6 separate regions of the Homo sapiens genome follow, and regions 2, 3, 4, 5 and 6 are each linked to region 1. The links are contacts of gene promoters, found by promoter capture Hi-C in blood cells and fetal thymus (Javierre and others, 2016). All regions are on one chromosome and are shown on one strand. Each heading gives the region's core, a stretch centred on a gene start or on the middle of the fragment in contact. The rest is flanking DNA. Distances are from core to core; before and after follow the strand shown. Region 1 holds the start of ADAMTS1 (ADAM metallopeptidase with thrombospondin type 1 motif 1). Region 2 has its middle 86 kb from the start of LINC01695. Region 3 has its middle 49 kb from the start of LINC01695. Region 4 has its middle 1.7 kb from the start of LINC01695. Region 5 overlaps LINC01695 (long intergenic non-protein coding RNA 1695). Region 6 overlaps LINC01697 (long intergenic non-protein coding RNA 1697).

The links. The method cuts DNA at HindIII sites, captures the fragments that hold promoters and counts their contacts. A CHiCAGO score of 5 or more calls a contact.
Region 2: a contact is called between a fragment that was not itself captured here and the fragment with the promoter of ADAMTS1 in region 1, in 1 of 17 cell types (M1 macrophages). The highest score is 5.2, in M1 macrophages.
Region 3: a fragment that was not itself captured here is called in contact with the fragment with the promoter of ADAMTS1 in region 1 in 1 of 17 cell types (M1 macrophages); the score reaches 5.5 in M1 macrophages.
Region 4: a fragment that was not itself captured here is called in contact with the fragment with the promoter of ADAMTS1 in region 1 in 2 of 17 cell types (megakaryocytes and M0 macrophages); the score reaches 7.5 in megakaryocytes.
Region 5: a contact is called between a fragment that was not itself captured here and the fragment with the promoter of ADAMTS1 in region 1, in 1 of 17 cell types (endothelial precursors). The highest score is 5.6, in endothelial precursors.
Region 6: a fragment that was not itself captured here is called in contact with the fragment with the promoter of ADAMTS1 in region 1 in 2 of 17 cell types (M0 macrophages and M1 macrophages); the score reaches 7.3 in M0 macrophages.

Annotation. Positions count from the first base shown.
Region 1 is chr21:26,843,853-26,846,950 of GRCh38, forward strand. It overlaps ADAMTS1 (ADAM metallopeptidase with thrombospondin type 1 motif 1), which reads right to left and starts at 1,557. Exons shown (of 9, transcript NM_006988.5): 1 at 373-1,557. The coding sequence starts at 1,102. RefSeq lists enhancers at 1,741-2,341, 2,342-2,941. The HindIII fragment of the contact is 3,865 bases long and covers 1-2,150 here.
Region 2 is chr21:28,312,794-28,315,891 of GRCh38, forward strand. No RefSeq gene overlaps it. Among named protein-coding and RNA genes, the nearest start is that of LINC01695, 86 kb to the left of the region's middle. The HindIII fragment of the contact is 6,920 bases long and covers 1-3,098 here.
Region 3 is chr21:28,275,798-28,278,895 of GRCh38, forward strand. No RefSeq gene overlaps it. Among named protein-coding and RNA genes, the nearest start is that of LINC01695, 49 kb to the left of the region's middle. The HindIII fragment of the contact is 180 bases long and covers 1,590-1,769 here.
Region 4 is chr21:28,228,774-28,231,871 of GRCh38, forward strand. No RefSeq gene overlaps it. Among named protein-coding and RNA genes, the nearest start is that of LINC01695, 1.7 kb to the left of the region's middle. The HindIII fragment of the contact is 1,226 bases long and covers 834-2,059 here.
Region 5 is chr21:28,190,981-28,194,078 of GRCh38, forward strand. All of the region lies in intron 3 of LINC01695 (long intergenic non-protein coding RNA 1695), which reads right to left. Among named protein-coding and RNA genes, the nearest start is that of LINC01695, 36 kb to the right of the region's middle. The HindIII fragment of the contact is 1,695 bases long and covers 797-2,491 here.
Region 6 is chr21:28,090,153-28,093,250 of GRCh38, forward strand. The region is part of intron 1 of LINC01697 (long intergenic non-protein coding RNA 1697); the gene reads left to right. Among named protein-coding and RNA genes, the nearest start is that of LINC01697, 43 kb to the left of the region's middle. The HindIII fragment of the contact is 1,124 bases long and covers 946-2,069 here.

The DNA of each region.
Region 1 (3,098 bases), core at 307-2,806:
AAAAGGCGCACACAAAATCATTAAAAAGAAATACACAGAGTGGAAAGAACTCGCACAAGCTCCAACTCGCTAAAGGTGGAAGGAGTCAGGTTACAAACTCTCCCTCCCCGGCCTAAATGCTTTGCTTTAGTTTGCAGAAAATCGTTTGTCAGTTTTTTTCTTGGTTATTCATTATTCGGGCAAATGCAAGTATGTTTTCTAGCTGAGTTCACCAATCCAAACCTCAAACCACATTCCTCCACTCCAGGCCTCCGTTCTGTCCGCGGACTTATGATCCTGCCTGCCAGCAGGAGTCTACCCTGAAGTCGCGTGGGATAGATAAAGTGAGGAGAGGAGGATGAATGGACAGACAAACGAGAGCAATTCTTCTACCTGTGGGCTGTCCTACGCCTTGCAGTGCCGGGTCCTGCGGCGACCACTGAGCCCCTTCGTCCTCGCCCTCAGTCCCTTCGTCCTCGTCTTCGGTCTCCGCTTTCCCAGTCGGCCGGGGCTCGTCGTCCACGACCCCGCACGTGCCGCCGACGTCGCCCTGCCGATTCCGCCGCAGGAGGTGGAACTGTAGTGGTGCCGGCGGCTTCTCCCCTGGGGCGGCGGTGGCGAGGCGCTCGCTGGCGGCGGGCAGCGGCTGGATGAAATACGCCTCCCCCAGCAGGTAGAAGGCGCCGCGCACGCCCTCGCAGAGGCTGAGGGCGGCAGCCGAGCTGGGATCGCCATTCACGGTGCCGGAGTAGAAGCAGTGCGCCAGGTCGGTTTCCGGAAGCGGCGTCTCGGACCCGGATTTGCGCCCCACGTTCTGGAGCGTGAAGCCGGGCGCCAAAAAGCTGCTGTCGGGCCGCAGCTCCAGATCCAGCTGCTGGTCAAAGGCGTGCAGGCGGAGGCGCGTGGTCCCGTGTCCCGGGGCGCGCTCCAGCTCCGGCACCACTAGCTCCTCGTCCTCCTCGGAGGGGCGCCCGAGTGCGTCCGACACGGCCAGTAGCGCCGCGGCGAGCAGCAGCAGCGTGGGTACTGGCCCAAAGCTCCGAGACCCCGGAGCCCGCTCCGCGTTCCCCATGTCGCTGCCCAGCTTGCGCCTTCCGAACCCCTCGGGCACAGCTCGCTGCATTGGAGCCCCAGGAGACACCGCTCGTAGCAGCGCACGGAGCGAGGGACCTTTAGTTCGGGTCGGGAGAGCAAAGCCTCGTTGGCCTGCTCTGGATTGTTAAAATTAACAATTTCTATTATTCGTTGGAAGGGCGCGCAGAGCCGGCTACAGCCGAAGCTCCCGGAGTCACTAAAAGGAGGCGCTGCAGTTCTGCCGGCGCGCGGGAAGTTTTTCTTCCAGCGCAAAGTTGGAGACACTGAGAGGCAGGCGCAGGCAGAGTGGCTCTGCTGGGACAAGAAGCGCTCTGGGGCGCCTCCGGGGCTGAGGCAACGCGGAGATTGGTGCCTGGCGCCCCTCTTCGGCCTCCGCCTTGGCTGCGATGTTGCTCACTCTGCTCAGGGCTCTCCCCTCTCCGTCCGGTAGCGCACCCTGGCTTTGCAATAGCCCCTGGCTCGGAGCCGCTTTCCAGCGAGTGCAAGAACCGGGCAGCCGAGCGGTCCTTTTATAGTGGACCAGTGAAACCCCCACCCCCACCCCACTCCTCCCCTTTGGCCCTTTTCCATCCCAAAGACGCCGCCCCCGGCTCCGTTGGTGCTAAACCGCGCTCCGCGCTGCGGGCTCGGGAGGGGGAGGGGGCAGCCTCCGCGCTGGCTCCACGCCACTGCTCGTCAATCTAGGGGCGGAAGGGGCGCTGTGACCAGCACTTTGTACTGCTGGGGCCGCTCCAGGGAGAAGACTCTCCCTTCCACCGCTTTTCTCCCTCGCCGGTTTCCTGGACCACCCTTCCTCCCCACCGCCCGGTTGCGGTAACTCAGTTACCGCGCTGGGCTGCGGTTCCCAGGAGGGAGGGTTCGGTTGGAGAACGCAGTCCCTTCTTCAACATTTCCCTATCCTGGAGCTGCCCTGGGTCTCCTTCCCTCCTCCCTCAGTTCCCTCTTCCCCAATCTAGGAGATGAGCTAGGGCTACACTTTCTAGAAAAATACCTCACCCCACTTCTCCACCTTCCCAGCCTGCCAGGAGCTCCTTAGCCGCCGCCTGCTCTCTCTTCGCCCCAGCTTTTCTAGGGAAAGCTTGGCCCTGCGCTTCCCCCAGAAAGCATGCCTGGGTGAGGGGCCAGGTGACACTTCCTACGATCTGGATTTTAAAATATGTTTGCTTATGCCTTCACCCTCCACCAACCCCCACCCCGCACGCCACCTCTTCACCAGAGACGACTTTGTGAGGGCCCGGTTTCACATTTCTGGAATGGGTGATCTGGGACGCGGCTCAATTCCCTAGAGCATAAGGAGGGAATTGCGCTTTTTCTTCTTCATTCGAGAAATGATCGGCTCCCGCCAGTCTGCGTGCTTTCACTCAACAGCAGCTGCAAGCCCTAGGCCAGCGTCGCAGAAACGGCCAGGAACCCCACTTTCCTACCCGGGGGCCAGCAGCGATCGCTGGGGCTAGCAAGCGTGCAGAGGGGGAAAGAAGGAAATCGGCTTCCTTCCCGGACCCCTCCTTCCTCTTCCTACCAGGAAGGGAAAAGGCTATATCCGCGTTACGAAAGCGAGGAGAGGTCCACCAACAGGTCCTTAGGAAAAAAAACTGAGTGGCTCTTCTCTCCAAAAAGTGGGAGGGGCTCAAGGACCCAGAGGAAGGACGTGTTTCACAGGCGGAAAGCCGCGGGGACAATGGCGAGAGCGACCGCCCTAGCCCCGGGCGGACCCGCAACCCTCACACTCGCGCGCCCCCGCGTTAGTGCTCGAACTGGTCTCCGCCTTTCCGCCCCACTCCCGTCCGGTCTCTTGGTTGGCTCCAAGTAGATCTGGGTCCTTTCCTCGCTCCTCCCCAGATCTTCCCCACTTCAGTTGGCCCCAGCCAGAAGCGTCCCTTCTAGTTCTCCCACACGTCCCTCTTACAAGCTTTCTTTTCCGGATGCTTTCCAACTTCTTTTTTCCTAGCGAGATTGCTTACTTGAAAAACAAAAACAAAAACATTGCTTTCCACTCATCAGGAAAAATCAAATGAGCAAGAATG
Region 2 (3,098 bases), core at 361-2,860, 1.5 Mb after region 1:
GCAAGAAAAAAGAGTATTATAAGGTACAAAGGAATCTCAATAAAATTAACAGGTGACTTTCAACAGAAATCATGGAGGTTATAAGGCAGTAAAACAACATATTCAAAGTGCTTAAAGCAAAAGAATGTCAACCAAGAATTGAATATCCAGCAAAACTAACCTTCAAAAATTAAAGAGAGATTAAGATATCCCCAGGCCAAAAAAAAAAAAAAAGAAAAAAAGAAAAAAAAGGAAATTTGTAACTAACAGACCTATACTACCATAAATACTGAAGCAACTCCTTCAGAATCAAATGAAAAGAAGTTAGACAGTAATTCAAATCCACATGAACATTTTTCAGGCCTGGAAATAGGCACCTGAAAAGGCTTTACCTGGCAGGCCTCATGGGGAAATCTACTCTCCCCACACCAAACTTGACATACAGACCGTGCATTGAAGTCTCTGGCAAAAGTTGCAGCCAAGAACTCAGGCCTCTCTGGCTGGTCATGCTCTTATGTGCATTTTATTCATAGCCAAAGGACCTCTATTAGGAAGTCTCCTTATTGGGAAGCCTCAGCTGAGAGATTCCTCAAGCACCTCTATATTTTTATAATGGGATCGCAAAGATAATTTTTCCACTCTGACCCAGTACTTAGGACTCTTTGAATTTTAGCCCTTACCCTTCCACTTTCCCTAGCCCCAGGTCATAAAATGACAGAAGTCCTTTATTCAAGGCTCTCTTGGCAGTTACATATTTTCTCCATCTGTATTGCTACATTTGACCCTCACACACTGCCATTCCATGGGGGAAATGAGAACATTGAGGGAGCCAGCATGCCAGCACTCTTTGCTATTTAGCCTCTTATACTATCACAGTAAGTGAAAAACAGCTCAATTATTATTTATAGCTTAGTTTATTGTCTTAATGAATGTCAACACCCAGCAGCTCAGCTTTCTTCAAAAGAATAAAGAGCACTAGCTGGTGCAGTGGCTCATGCCTGTAATCCCAGCACTTTGAGAGGCCGAGGTGGGTGGATCATGAGGTGGGTGGATCACGAGGTCAGGAGCTCAAGACCAGCCTGGCCAATATGGTGAAACCCCGTCTCTAATAAAAATACAAAAATTAGTCAGGCGTGGTGATGTGCACCTGTAGTCTCAGCTGCTCGGGAGGCTGAGGCAGGAGAATCGCTTGAACCTGGGAGGTGGAAGTTGTAGTGAGCTGAGATTGTGCCATTGCACTCCAGCCTGGGTGACAGAATCAGACCCTATCTCAAAAGAAAAAAAAAAAACAAAAAAACAAAAAAAAACGGAGCACTAGTAAAAGTAACTACACAGGTAAATATAACAGATGTAATAAATGTATTTTTTGTTTCTAACACTTTTCTTTCCCTATCTGATTTAAAGGGCAAATACATAAAGCAATAATCATGAATATGTGTTCATTGGCCTTAATGCATAAAGGTGTAATTCATATGAAAACAATAGCAAGAAGAATTGTAAGGGAACAAAGCTATATTACAGTAAAATTTTTGTATACCACTGAAAGTTGGTATGCATTAATTTAAAATAGATTGTTGACATTAATTTAAAATTGACAGTAATTTAAAATACATTGTCTTAGTTAAGATGTAAATTTTAAGCCCAGGGCAACCATTAAGAAAATAATGCAAAAAAATATAACAAAAGTAACAAAAGGAATTAAAATAGTGTAATACAAATATATAGTTAACACAAACAAAGCAGTAATTGAGTAATGGAGGAACAAAAAACATTATATATATGTTATATGTTTAAATATATATTTATATACATATATATATCCCAAGACCAAAAATAAATAAATTAAAGAAGAAATACATCACTAATAGACCTATACTACATGAAATACTGAAGCAAGTCCTTCAGAATCAAATGAAAGGAAACTAGTCAACAACTCAAATCCACATGAACATAAGGAGTCCAGCTCCAGGCCAAAATCATATATGTGATTTTTTAGGCCTAAAAATAGGCACCTGCATATATATATATATATATACACATACATGTATATGCATGATATAAATCCAACTAGGCACCAAATAAATCCAAAATAGGCACCTACCTATATATAGATATATATATATATGTGTGTATATATATATATATGCAGATATAAATCCAACTTTATCTATATTGCATTAAACAAAAGTATACTAAACTCTCAAACAAGTGGCAGAGATTGGCAGAATGAATTAGAAATCTGATCCAACTATATGTTGTCTGTAAGAAATACACTCAAGATTCAAAAATAGGTAGGTGGAAAGTTAAAAAGATGGAAAAATTATATCATAAAAATAGCAATCAAAAGACAACTGAAATGGTGATACTAATATCAAGCAAAATAGACTTTAAGAAAAATATTATTATTAGAAAAAATAGAACTATGTTTTATAATGATAAAAGGGTCAACCATTCAGGAAGACATAACAATTATAAACATATATGCATCTAACAAGAGAGTCCCAAAATACGTGGAGCCAAAACTGACAATACTACAGGGAGACATAGCCATGTCAAAAAGAATAATGGGACACTTCTATAGCCTCGATTGCAATAATGAATAAAAATAAGCTAAGAAGAATTTCAACAAGGAATTAAAGGAGATTTAACAAATCTATAAGCCAACTAGAGCTAACAGATTTTTATGGAACACTCTACACACAGCAGAAGAATCCACATTCTTCTAAAGTACACAGGTAATATTCTCTAAGATAAACTATATATTACTTCATTAAAACCACAAAAAATTAAAAAGTTGAAAATATACAAAGTATGTTCTTCAACATTAAAGAAATTAAATTATAAAGGGATAACAAAAGGAATTTTGGGAATTTACAAATATGTAGAAATTAAACAACATGCTCCTAGCCAATGGGTCAAAGAAGACATGATAAGGAAAATTACAAAATACTTTGAGATAAAATATTTATAGAATTCTATTACGTTTCTGCACATTGTGACAGTACACGGATCAAATTCTTTTTTCTCTGGACTATTTTTCTTACAATTTGTACAGAAAACATCCTTGGAAAGCAGCAAAAATGTTATTTATTGTCATCAGTTACACACCATTATGTGAC
Region 3 (3,098 bases), core at 430-2,929, 1.4 Mb after region 1:
CCAAACTCTGGAAAAGAGAGTTTTGAAAATGGGAGACCAGTGAAGGACATGATAAATCTCAAGAAGAAAGGTGCAATCTGAAATAACTCGGCTTTGGAAAACTTAGGGACCCAGCATAGGGCACTAGCTTCTAATCCAGCACTGGTACTAACTGGATACCTGAGCTCAGACTTTGTTGTAACAAAAGATCACCATAGACTGGGTGGCCTGTGAACAATATAAATTTATTTATTATAGTCCTGGAGGCTGAAAGCCTGAGATCAGAATGTCTGCTTGGTTGAGTTCTGATAAGGGCCCTCTTTCAGGTTGCAGATCACCAACTTCTCATTGCATCCTCCTATGACAGAAAGAGAGCTAGCTCTCTGCACTACATATAATGGCACTAACCCATTCATGAGAGCTGCACCCTCAAGACCTAATTACTTCTCAAAGGCCCCACCTCTAAATATCATCACATTGGGATTAGGGTTTCAATATATGAATTTGGAGTAGGAGGGAAATACAAACATTCAATCATTTGATTTGGTCAATAATTGTTTGTTGAATAAATAAAAGCCTGAAATATGATGATTCAACATAGTGAGACATATAAGAAGAAAGCAAGAAATAAAATATTCTGAGACAATGCGAAACAAATAAGGCATCACCGCACAGACTCATAAAATAATTATGTGGAATTGAATACCCTCTATATGCCAGGTTGTATGTTAAGAGCTTATTTCAATGCTAGACTGAGGCACTAATTATGACTCCCATTTTATACATGATGAAAATGAGACTTAGAGTGTATAGTACACAGAATAATGTTCTCTCAAAGACATGCCTGTCCTGATCAGCAGAATTTGTGAATATATTACTTTACATGGCAAAATGGATATTGCAGGCATGATTTAAGTTAAGGGTCTTGAGATAGAAAAGTTATTTTGAATTATCCAGGTGTGCCAATGTTATCACAAAATCCCTTATAAGGTAATGAGAGGAGGAAGAAGATGTGAAGAGAGGAGCAGAGTTCAGAGAGAAAGAGTAAGAGAGAGTTAAAGTTGCTATGCTGCTGATCTTGAAGACAGAGAGTGGGGCTGTGAGCCAAGGAATGTAGGTGGCCTCCAGAAGCTGGAAAAGGCAAGGGAACAGATGTTGCCCTGGTGCCTTCAAAAGCAATGCAGCCCTGACAATATCTGGATTTTAGGGCTCTGACCTCCACAAACATAATACAATGAATTTGTATTGTTTTATATTTCAAAGTTTATAGTAATTTGTTACAGCAACAATAGGAAATTAATTCCTTAATACAGAAGGATTAAGGAATTTTCTCAATGATCTCATTTTCTCAGTGAGGGTCAGCTGAAACCCAGGCATCTCTGACACTGAGTTTTGTCATTTCTCCCATCTTAGTAGCAGGAAAGTCACTCAGAAAATAGATAAATCCACACTTGTAAAATGGAAGTGTCTCAACCTACTTAACAGGAATTAGGCATTTTTAACATGCTGCCAATAATGGTGAAAAAAATGAACCAGATAAATCTATATGACTGAAAAACTGCTACCTGTTTCTAAGTACCGAGAGAAAAACTGTTCATCCAATTTTGTTAAGCTTAAATTCTCACCAGACATATATCCTTTTACTGTGGACTCAAATTTGATCACTATTCAAGTCTTTTTCAATGTCTTCTCTATGGTTGGCTTACCTCCTAAGCAGATAAAAATTGATTTTCTAATTCTGTATGACTTGTTGCACAATATATCTTTTTGTATGTACACAAAACTCTGAAAGCTTACTTAAACTCTGTTAGCTCATGGTTAGCCTCAAATTTACACCAACTTAAGAATTATTTTTTCTACTAAATGTTGTTTAATAATCATTGTTTTATTTTTATTGCCAAATTCTAGTTTTAAAAATGGTTGGTAGGAATGTAAATTAGTTCAACCCCTATGAAACACAGTATAGAGAAATCGCAAAGCACTAAAAATAGAACTACCATTCCACCAGCAATTACATTACTTGGCATCTCCCCAAAGAAAAAGAAAGCATTATATAAAAAAAGACACCTGCATTTGGATGTTTATTGCAGCACTATTCACAATAGAGAAGTCATGGAACCACCCTAAGTGCCCATCAATGGTTGCTTGGATAATGGAATATCATACAGCCATAATAAACAATAAGATCATATCCTTTGCAGCAGCATGAATGGAGCTAGAGGTCATTATCCTGAGTAAACTAACTCAGAAGCAGAAGATCAAATATCATGTATTCTCCCTAATAAGTAGAAGCTTAGCAATGGGCAGACATGAACATCAAGATGGAGATAATAGACACTGGGAACTCCAAAAGCGTAGACAATAAGAGGTGAGTGAGGATTGAAAAATTGCCTATTTGGTACAATGTTTAATACTTGGGTGATGGGCACACTAGAATTGCGTTCCCCACAATTACCCATGTAATACCCATGTAAGAAACAAGCACATGTAGCCCCTGAGCCTAAAATAAAATAAAATTTTTAAGTCCTCAATATAATCTATTTATTTCTGAGTTAAATAAAATATTTTAAGAGAGATAAATGTTTCAACAAAAATATATTTGTACATATCAGCATTTTTATTAATAAAAATATTTGCCTTATTTTGACTTAATAATGTATATAATATCAGAGATATTAAAATGTACAATATACAATTAAGATATACAATATACAATTAAGATATACAATATCTGAGATACTTTCTCAGATTTTACTGGGGCTTGGAGTGAGTGAAGAATCCAATCCATAGCCCTTGTTTTCAAGGAGTTTGGTTAGGAAATCAGAATATATTGTCGAAATACAATTCATAAACAAATCCCTGAATCCAAAATATCCTAAAGGTACTATACCCTCTCTTTAAACCATTCTCCAAACTGCAATCATAACAAGTCAGATTCCAGTTTTGTTTTACTTCCGTATCTTTTTTGGAAGAGTCAGCTTAAGGTTTCATTGCACAACTGGGAGCTGAAATGTTGAAGAAAAGGATGTTGAGTCCCTGAATATGGAATACGGGCAATGGTATAAGGCACACGACTTGGTCAGTGGGTGACAGACTTTAGTAAATGCAGTGTATAAGGG
Region 4 (3,098 bases), core at 197-2,696, 1.4 Mb after region 1:
ATGGTGAATGCCTTGAATGCTGCCTCTTAGTGCCCAGTAGCCCGAGGGCTATGAAGCATGTGAAAGTGACATAGAGAATTTATTCTCTAGGGGCTAAAGGACCTATCTGTTAATAACACTTTCTAACTGCTTGACATTCAGCTAAATACTTAACCTAAGATTCCTCAGTTACATGAAGGTAATAATGGTTGCTACCTCAAATGGCTCTTGTGAGGATTAAATGAGGTAATGCTTGTATACAGTGCAAAGTATAGAGTAAGTATCAATGAAGGTAAAATACTGGTGATTTTTCATACTCTCTACATAATTTTAAATTGTGTTTCTTTGGTTAATTACTTTTGGCTGTTACTTTTTTTGTTGGTAGTGAATTTAAGAACCATGAGAAGAATGTTATCCAGCAAATGCTGTATACTTTAACATGCTTATAAAGACTTTTTAAAAGTAGCTTCATGTATCCCTTCTTCATTTTTATAGTGGCAATTTAAGCTAACTAGCTGGCATTTTATCATGCATTTACAGATCCACAACTCTAGTAAATAAAGTTATCAGACAGGAATACAATTCAGAAATATATTTAAAGAGCAAAGCTTATTTTTCTAAGAATTTTACTTTGTTGATTTAAAAAAACAATATTTTATTGTCTTATCTAAGTGAATTTCATATCCATGACAAGTTTGTTAATGTTATTTAATCCCCTCAGCATATCAATTTAAAGATCAAAGGTTAAAATTTTATAAAACAAATTGTGAGGTAATGCAATGTCAATCTTGTAATGTTTTATGAGAATAATGCAATTAAATTATAATATATAAAATTCTTACATTTCTAATCAAAGCTTCATAAAATGAACATATTGTATAGAGTGATTACAAACTGAAAAAACAATTTTCTTAAATAGAAGATGTGACAGAACATAGTTAAGAGGATTTACTAGGTAATACATTTTGAGGACTTCTTAAAACAATAAACTACACATCTTTAATATTTTTAAAACTGCCAGAAGTCTGTATTTAATATAGGATCATGCTGTATTTTTGAACCTCTGTTTTGTTGTAATGATATCATACTGAAATGTAATGCAAAGTAAAATGTATACAATGTAAAACGCAAGTCTTACATATGTTGCTATTGGATACACTGCTTATAAAGCTAAGGATAAAAGATAACTCTAAACTCTGAGTCATACAACAGTTATAAAGCAAATATGCACATTTATATCTCAAAAGATAAAATTGCAACTGTTACTAAGCAGGAGTAAATTCTTTGCTGAATCATCCTTATTGCAAACATGTTTTGTCATTAGTGGCTAGATTGCCCAATTCAATTTTCCTACGTATCAATCAGTGCCTAACGTTTTAATTTTACTAACCCCTTTGGAACTATTATCACATCCTAATATTAATGCCAATTGTAGTAATTGTGCGCTAAATTCCCTTTGCCTCTAAAACATATCTTTTCCATAAATGTATGTGAACATTTCTGAAGACTCATTTTTACTAACATGTATTTTATTATATAAACAGAAATATGTATGACAAATATATAAAATAACAGACATTAATCATACATTAAGATACTATTATAAAACGGAAATATTTGGAAATTCACCTTAGAAGTTTTAAAAGGAGTTGACAAAGAGTTTAAGTTTGTTTTTCTACCAGTCTGTAATATTTATGAAGTCAGACAGATCTGTGTTCTCCTGTATGTAGCCCTAAACACCAAGCCCAATGCTTGGAATTTAATAGAGGACCAATGAGAATTTGTTGAATTGAAACCAATTGATCCTTATTATGCTTTCTAGAAACAGGGAAAAGAAAAAATTTGAAAGACTTGGTAATTTCTCTTTCACAAAATGATCATTCAAGTAGATATTAATAGAAACAGCTTTCACGATTCCCTAATCTTTTTTGCCCTGGCAGGATGTTGTCTATTTCCTTTCTTTCCAAACTCCATGCCATTTCATAGCTCATCTCCAGAAGTTTCTTTATGCTAGGGTGATTCATGGCCCAAGAGTCTGTTATGATTTTCCTTACCTAGGGCATTACATTAGAAAAAATGAAGCTTAAAATCACATTAATTATATGATATTAAATAGACATAGCTACATTTAAACAATGATGTATACATTATGATTAAACTATTTGACTTATTTACTTGTGTTGCCAGGGTTTGGAAGAGAATATGCAACAATTAGAATTATGTAATGTTGATGGCATTATGATAATTTTTATCCCTACTGCTGCACAAACTTATAATTAAAGTTAAAACAATTTCTCTATGCCTGGTAACTACTTCATATTATTAATTTATATGGAGTTTGAAATCGATCAAAAGCCATCTACCTGTCTTTTGCAAATAAACTGTCCTTAGTCCACCTCTTTACACATCCTGGATTTATATAGCTAATGTCTTCAAAATAGTATAGGATTTCACATTTGAAGTTTAATTTTCATATAGTCAATTTTATTTCAGCCTATGGATATCCTTTTAAATATTCTTACAAATTAGCTATCCCTTCTAGCTTTGGGCAATATGAAAATACTACATGTAATTTATTTAAATAAAATAACACACATGCACACAAATAAGTTAGATGAGGCCACATGCATTTCATCTGTCTTAGCCAGTTTGGACTGCTATACCAAAATACCATAGACTGAGTGGCTTAAATTATAGACTTATTCTCACACTTCTGAAGATCCAGGTGCTGCCGCATTTGGTTTCTGGTGAGTACTGTCTTCTTGGTTTGCAGACAGCCAGCTTCTGGCTATATCCTCATGTAGTAGACAAACAGAATATCTTTCTCCTCTCTCTTCTTATGAAGGCACTAATGCCATTTATGAGGGCTGTACCCTCATAACTTAATCACTCCCAAAAGACTCACTTCAAAATATTATCACATTATGGATTAGGGTTTCAGCATATGAATTTAGGGGGAACATAAACATTTAGTCCATAGTACCATCTGAGGATGCTTTTCAAGTTGATAATGTTCAAATTTTCATCTCTCTGTCCTTGCAAACATTATTTAATCAGTCTATATATTATCAGCTTATCCACCAATGATTTATGAGATTGTATTTCTGATTAACTTATCA
Region 5 (3,098 bases), core at 394-2,893, 1.3 Mb after region 1:
TGTGAAGAATGGCAATACATTTCAAATTGACCTACAGATTCAGCAAAATGTCGATCAAAGTAACTTATGGCTTTTTTGCAGAAATTGACAGGCTAATCCTAAAATTCACATGAAAATTTAAAGGTAGCCAAAACAATCTTGAAAAAGGAGAACAAAGTTAAAGGAGTTTCACTTTTTCATTTCAAGACTTATTTCAAAGCTACAGTCATCAAGACAGTGCTGTAGTGGCATAAGAATAGACAAATACATTAATATAATCTAATTAAGAGTCCAGATGTAAACCCTTACAATTTGCAGCCAATTTATTTCAAACAAGGATCCCAACACAATTCAATGGGGAGAATAACAGACATTTCAGCAAAAGGTATCTACATGCAAAAGAATGAATTTGGTCAGCTTCCTTATATTTCAAGTGGATGAAATCTAAATATAAAAGCTATAAAATTCTTGAAAGGAAACATAGGCATACATCATGATTTGAGGTAAAAAAAAGAAAAAATGATAATTTGAACTTTATGAAAATTGAACTTTCGAGTTGCAAAAGAATATCATCAAGAAAATGAACAGTGGTCCATTTTTCACTGCTCCATGTGCTCTGTTGCAGGAGATCAAGATAACTCCACCACAGCGTCTGTCACCCTGTGACCAACAGGTAGCCAAAACAATCTTGAAAAAGGAGAACAAAGTTGGAGGGCTTCTACTTTTTACTTTCAAATCTTACTGCAAATCTACAGTAATCAAGACAATGTGGTACTGGAAGCAGGGAAATGATGGCCAACTAGAGACAAAAGATGCAAGCTTCCCTCAGAAAGATCAAAATTATAAGTGAATGGTCATTCCAGGAGTGGAAAGCTGAGGAAAGAGTGCTGAAACCTGTCAGACAACCCATGGGAAGAAGCTGGAGTGCAGAAAGGGAAGGCAGCAAGAATCTGGCAGAGATTGGACTCCAGGGAACCTGGAGTCCCATGCAAAGGATAGGGGTGGGTATTCTTTTCTCTCCTCTCCCCTGCAACAAACTGCTGACCACTGAATTGTCCAGGAGCCTCTCTGCCCTCTTGAGCCCAGGACTCAAGGACTACTGTCCTTGACAATTTGCGAGCTTCCTGGGGGCAGAGCACCAGGTGACCAGCTCCTGCAAGTGCACTAGCACTCCGTCATACCCAAATTGAGGCAGCAGACACTGTACTGGTTGTGCCTCCATCAAGGACAACTACCTGGGGAATCTCAGGGTTGCCTTATCCCCAGATGCCCCACAAATGTTCTCCAGAATCTGCTCTGGCTTTGGCAGTCATGGGGGACCAGTGATTCCCTGGAGATCTAGCCCTTAGGATGGACAGCCCCTAGGGGAGGGGAGCGTGCCTCACCAAATCCCCCTTGGGATAAAGGAATCACAGCATAGTGCAGTTCTCCCAAGAGGGGAAGCATTGTTCTGTCCCAGCTGTACTAGTTTGTTCTCACACTGCTAATAAAGACATGCCTGAGACTGGGTGATTTATGAAGGAAACTGGTTTAATTTGACTCACAGTTCCACATGGCTGGGGATGCTCCACAATCATGGCAGAAGGTGAATGAGGAACAAAGTCACGTCTTACATGGAGGTAGGCAGGAGAACATGTGCAGGGGAACTCCCCTTTATAAAACCATCAGATCTCATAAGACTTATTCACTATCACAAGAACAGCATGGGAAAAACACACTTCCATGATTCAATTACCTCCAGCCAGGTCCCTCCCACAACACGTGGGGTTATTACAATTCAAGGTGATATTTGGGTGGGGACACAGAGGCAAACCATATCACCAGCAGACAAGCAGCACTAGTGGCTGGGAGCAGACATGGAGAGGGTACCACCTCTTACTCCCTCACACTGCTGCAGACACAGCTGAGGCCTTTCCTGCTGGGGGCTGGCACAAGTGCGCTTAGAGACAGCCTTTCCAGTGCTATTCATGGCTGCTGCACCCAGGTTGAAAGTGTGCTTGTGGTCCTGGGTGTCAGGAAGTGTAGGATAATCTCCTGCTCCCTACACCAAGTGGCAGCATTCCTGCCATCGAGGGCAGCTTCAGAGCTCCTTTTTTTTTGGATTGGGGGGAAGGTGTTCTGCCCTGAGTCCATGTCAGAGGTAGCCACAAGAGGGGCATTTCCCACAGACCTCAGATGCATTGAGGCCCAGAGAGAAAGGACAGGGTATATCTAAACTGAAGTTCATGAGCCCTATTCACTAACAGGGGCCTGATAGTGAACTAAATCATGTTTCTTCCTGCTCAGGACAAAGAGCTGAGACAGCCCCTTCTCTCTCACCCCAGACCTCAGTGCCTCCCACCAAGAACTTCCTCTGCTATCCTGTCGGGGTGGGTGCTTCCACTCATCATCAGTGTTCCCGATGGCAAGCTAACCCTTGCTCTTAAATCACCACCTACTGGACTGGAGACCAAACTGCAATACCAAATAAAAACCTTGCTGACAGAAGGCCACAGTACCAGGGTACAAAAGAAGCTTCCTGAGACACCTGCATTCCCAGCCCCACAGAAGATAGTGAGTCAGCTCATCCACCCAGTACATAGCTACAACAAGTAGAATTTGAGGAAGCCATGAGGCAAAAGCTATCTATAACAAATGAACCCACACAGAGCCTTGGTCCCCTGAAAGCACCCAGAAACAAAGCCAAATGATCACATACAACATACATTACAGTCAGCCCCTCAAGGGAGAAACATTTTTTTTAAAGTCCCAATTAAATGATAGCAATTCCAAAAATAAGAAGTGACAGCTTCTTCAGATGAGAAGAAATCAGCACAAAAACTCTTGACAATACAAAAAGACAGAGTATTTCAACACCCCCAGGGAACTATGCTAGCTCTATGGCAATGGATTCTAACCAAAATGAAACTTCTAAAATGGCAGATAAAGAATTCAAAATGTGAATTGTAAGGAAGCTCAGTGAAATCCAAGAGAAAGTTGAAAACCAACAGAAATAAACCAAAAAGGCAATTTAGGATATGAAAGATGTGATAGATATAGGTTAAAAAAAAGAAAAAAAAAACAGAACCTCTAGAAATGAAAAATTCAGTGAAGAAATTTCAACTTACAATTGAAAACTT
Region 6 (3,098 bases), core at 258-2,757, 1.2 Mb after region 1:
CAGAGTCAGTTTTTAGGCGGAGGGTGAGAATGGCTTGAAAATTTGCTGAATGCTATCCATCTCCCAGCCCCCAGAGAAAAGGGCTTTAGTTCCTCCCCCTGCCTGTGAAGTCTGCAGGCCAGATTCGCGCCCTCCCCTGAGTTCTGGCCAGGAGGCTTCTTGCCCTGTTCAAATGGTTACAAAGTTCAGCTAGAGAATTCCTTCTCCCTGTAGAGTTTTACCCCCTGCTCCTCTGGCCGCCCTCCGGATGGATCTTTGTGTTGCCAGGCAGGAATGGGCTGCTTGGGGACCCAGTGAGCTCCGAGGGCCTTTCTGCTGCTTCCTGTACCCCTGTATTTCGCTCAGCTCTCTGACTTGACTCAGCTCCAGGTAAAGTCGGAAACTTCTCCCACAAACACCTTCAGCTTCTCCAGTGGGGGTGTGTGTTCGGGACACTCCCTTTCCCACTTGCACAGTTGGGACACTCATAGTATTTGGGGTGTCTCCCGGGTCCTGCAGGAGCAGTCCGCTTCCTTCAGAGGGGCTGTGGGTCTTCTTGGGATTGCTACTTTATTCTTGAAGTTGATCTGGAGCTAAAATTCACAGTGCAAGCCTCCGTAGGTTGCTCTGCCTGGAGCTTCAATCTAGTCCTGCCTCCTGTCCATCGTGATCCCCTGAATCTCAGCACACATAGTATTTTTGATAATACATATTTTCCATGAAGTTTTGAAGATCCTATGTATTTAAATTTATTTTCACCAATTTTATTTCTCTTCCTCATATCCCAGAGTTAACTAATTTTCTAAACTTGGTGTTCAGTACTACCATTTTTGTTATTTCACACACTACATAAATATCTAATACAAAAACACTATCTTGTATTGCACTGACAAAATATATACGTATTTTTAGAAACTTCTTGTTTTTCATCTTTATTTGTAATAATTGATTCATGTTGATTCATAAAGCTTTGCTCAGGTATGGTTAAACAACTGCTAAATTCCAGTATTCTATTGTATGAAAACGCCAAAATTTGTCTATCTAATTTTTGACTGATGGTCATTTCTAATTTTGCCTCATAGCAAAAAGTGCTACAGTGAAAATATTTGCTTTATATACAAGTCTTTATATAAAAGTGCAGTGGATTCACTAGGCTACATACCTACACACACATACACATGTAATTTTTTACTTTTTGGGTTAGTGGATTTTTCCCTAGATTTGTGTTGCCAAACTGCTTTCTCTTATGTTGATACTGATTTATATTCCCATCAGATATGGGAATTTATTTCTTTTTTCTTTTCTACATCTGTATCTTCACCTGGTACAGTTACCTTTTTAAATTTTGAGGGAAATGGTTTATCACGTGTGCTTATTGGATTTTTCTCTTCTCATTAGCGAACTGATTTTTCTCCCTGTGCTAATTTAAATTTACTCTTTGGAGAATTACCTGTTATTTTTGTGAACATAAAAAGGTCAAATTGTCAAGGCAGACTCACATGGATTAGTGCTGTTATCCCATGTCAAACTTCACTGATAAGTACAAGGGTACAAGTAAACACAAGCCACTTCCAGAAAAGCAAGGAGTGGCCTGGGACATCTATGACAGCTGCCCAGATCCTTCCTTTTCTTATCATCACACTCTGTCCCAGGTTAATAAATAGGGGGACAATGAAAAATGTAATTTGTGTATTTAATGTTCATTGTTTTTAAATACCATATGCTTAAATTATTATATAACATATAAACATAATATCCCTATTTAAAATAGCAATTATAAATACCAAGATAGAAACCAACAATTCCTCTGCCTTCACACGCCACTCCTATTATCATAAACAGTTCAGTATGAATAGTTTTTCATATCCTTTCAATCCTACTAATTTATGAATAAATAAATTAAAACTTTACTTGGTTATATTGTTTCTAAACACATTAAATCCATACCTATTACAAAAATCTCTAGTTAGTAGTTTAGGTCTATATCAAATTTAAGAGAAAAAATTAAAAAATGCCTTCAATATGAATGATTCCATTGTTAATGATCATTACTTTTTTGTGCATATGTCCTTTCAAATGTTTTTAGTTTAAGCTTTACTAAAATATTTACTATGAGCTGAGTGAAATGATAAGTTTGGTTCAACTGGTAAATTGCTCTATTTTTGCTTAAGACAAACTATCTGATACTGTTCTTTATATTAAGACTCACTTTGTTAAGTGAGAGTTTTCTTAAATGGTCTGTTTCATATAAAATATCTAAATTGTTTAAAGCCCTTACTAAAGTTACTGTATAAAAGTAATTCATACGGACTACATTTCTTGACACTAATGGCATATAAAATAAGCAGTACAAATGCATGAAGAATGAGAGATTTTTGATAACTTGACTTAACGTTTCATAGATTCATTCTGTAGCTAATTAGTTTTTCTTAAATTCTGCTTAGTCTAGTAGCAACTGTGGGCATAACATTTTTGGCATCGCGAATCAGACATTCTAGATTAGTTGGTAATGATAAAATGACTTTTGGTCCTGAACGCTTACTTTATTCTACTTGTATACATCGTGCATAATATTTTTAAGAAGTAAAATATGCAATGAAAAGTATTCTACAGAATAAAAATTCTGGCAGTGAAATGTATTAACAGATATTTGAAGCATATTTTGTAAAATGTGTATTCCTTTGCAGAAAATATAAATTGACGTTATGATGTTCAAATACTATTGATCTTGTGTTGGGTTAAGATTTTTAGGAGTATAGTTTATAGCATTTCAAATATTTTTCTGCAAAGCCAGCATTAAGTTATTTCTAAAAGTTTGATCTATTTAAAAATGCTAAGATCTTGATTATTGGCTCTCTAAATCCTGCAGTTCAGGACATTTTGAACAAGCTGCAGAATTCTAAAAGACAGAATACGTATTGAGAAGAATATAAAATAGCCAAAAGCCAATGGGTTATCCTTATGCCAGTCATAGTATAAAGTATTCAAAAACACTTGTTTAATTTATGTTCCAGCTAATATTTGACAGTTATTACATAGAAACACATAATAATATGATTTATTTTATATGTGAAAAGATAACTTTACAACTTTATGAACAGCAGGTAAATTGAGGAAAG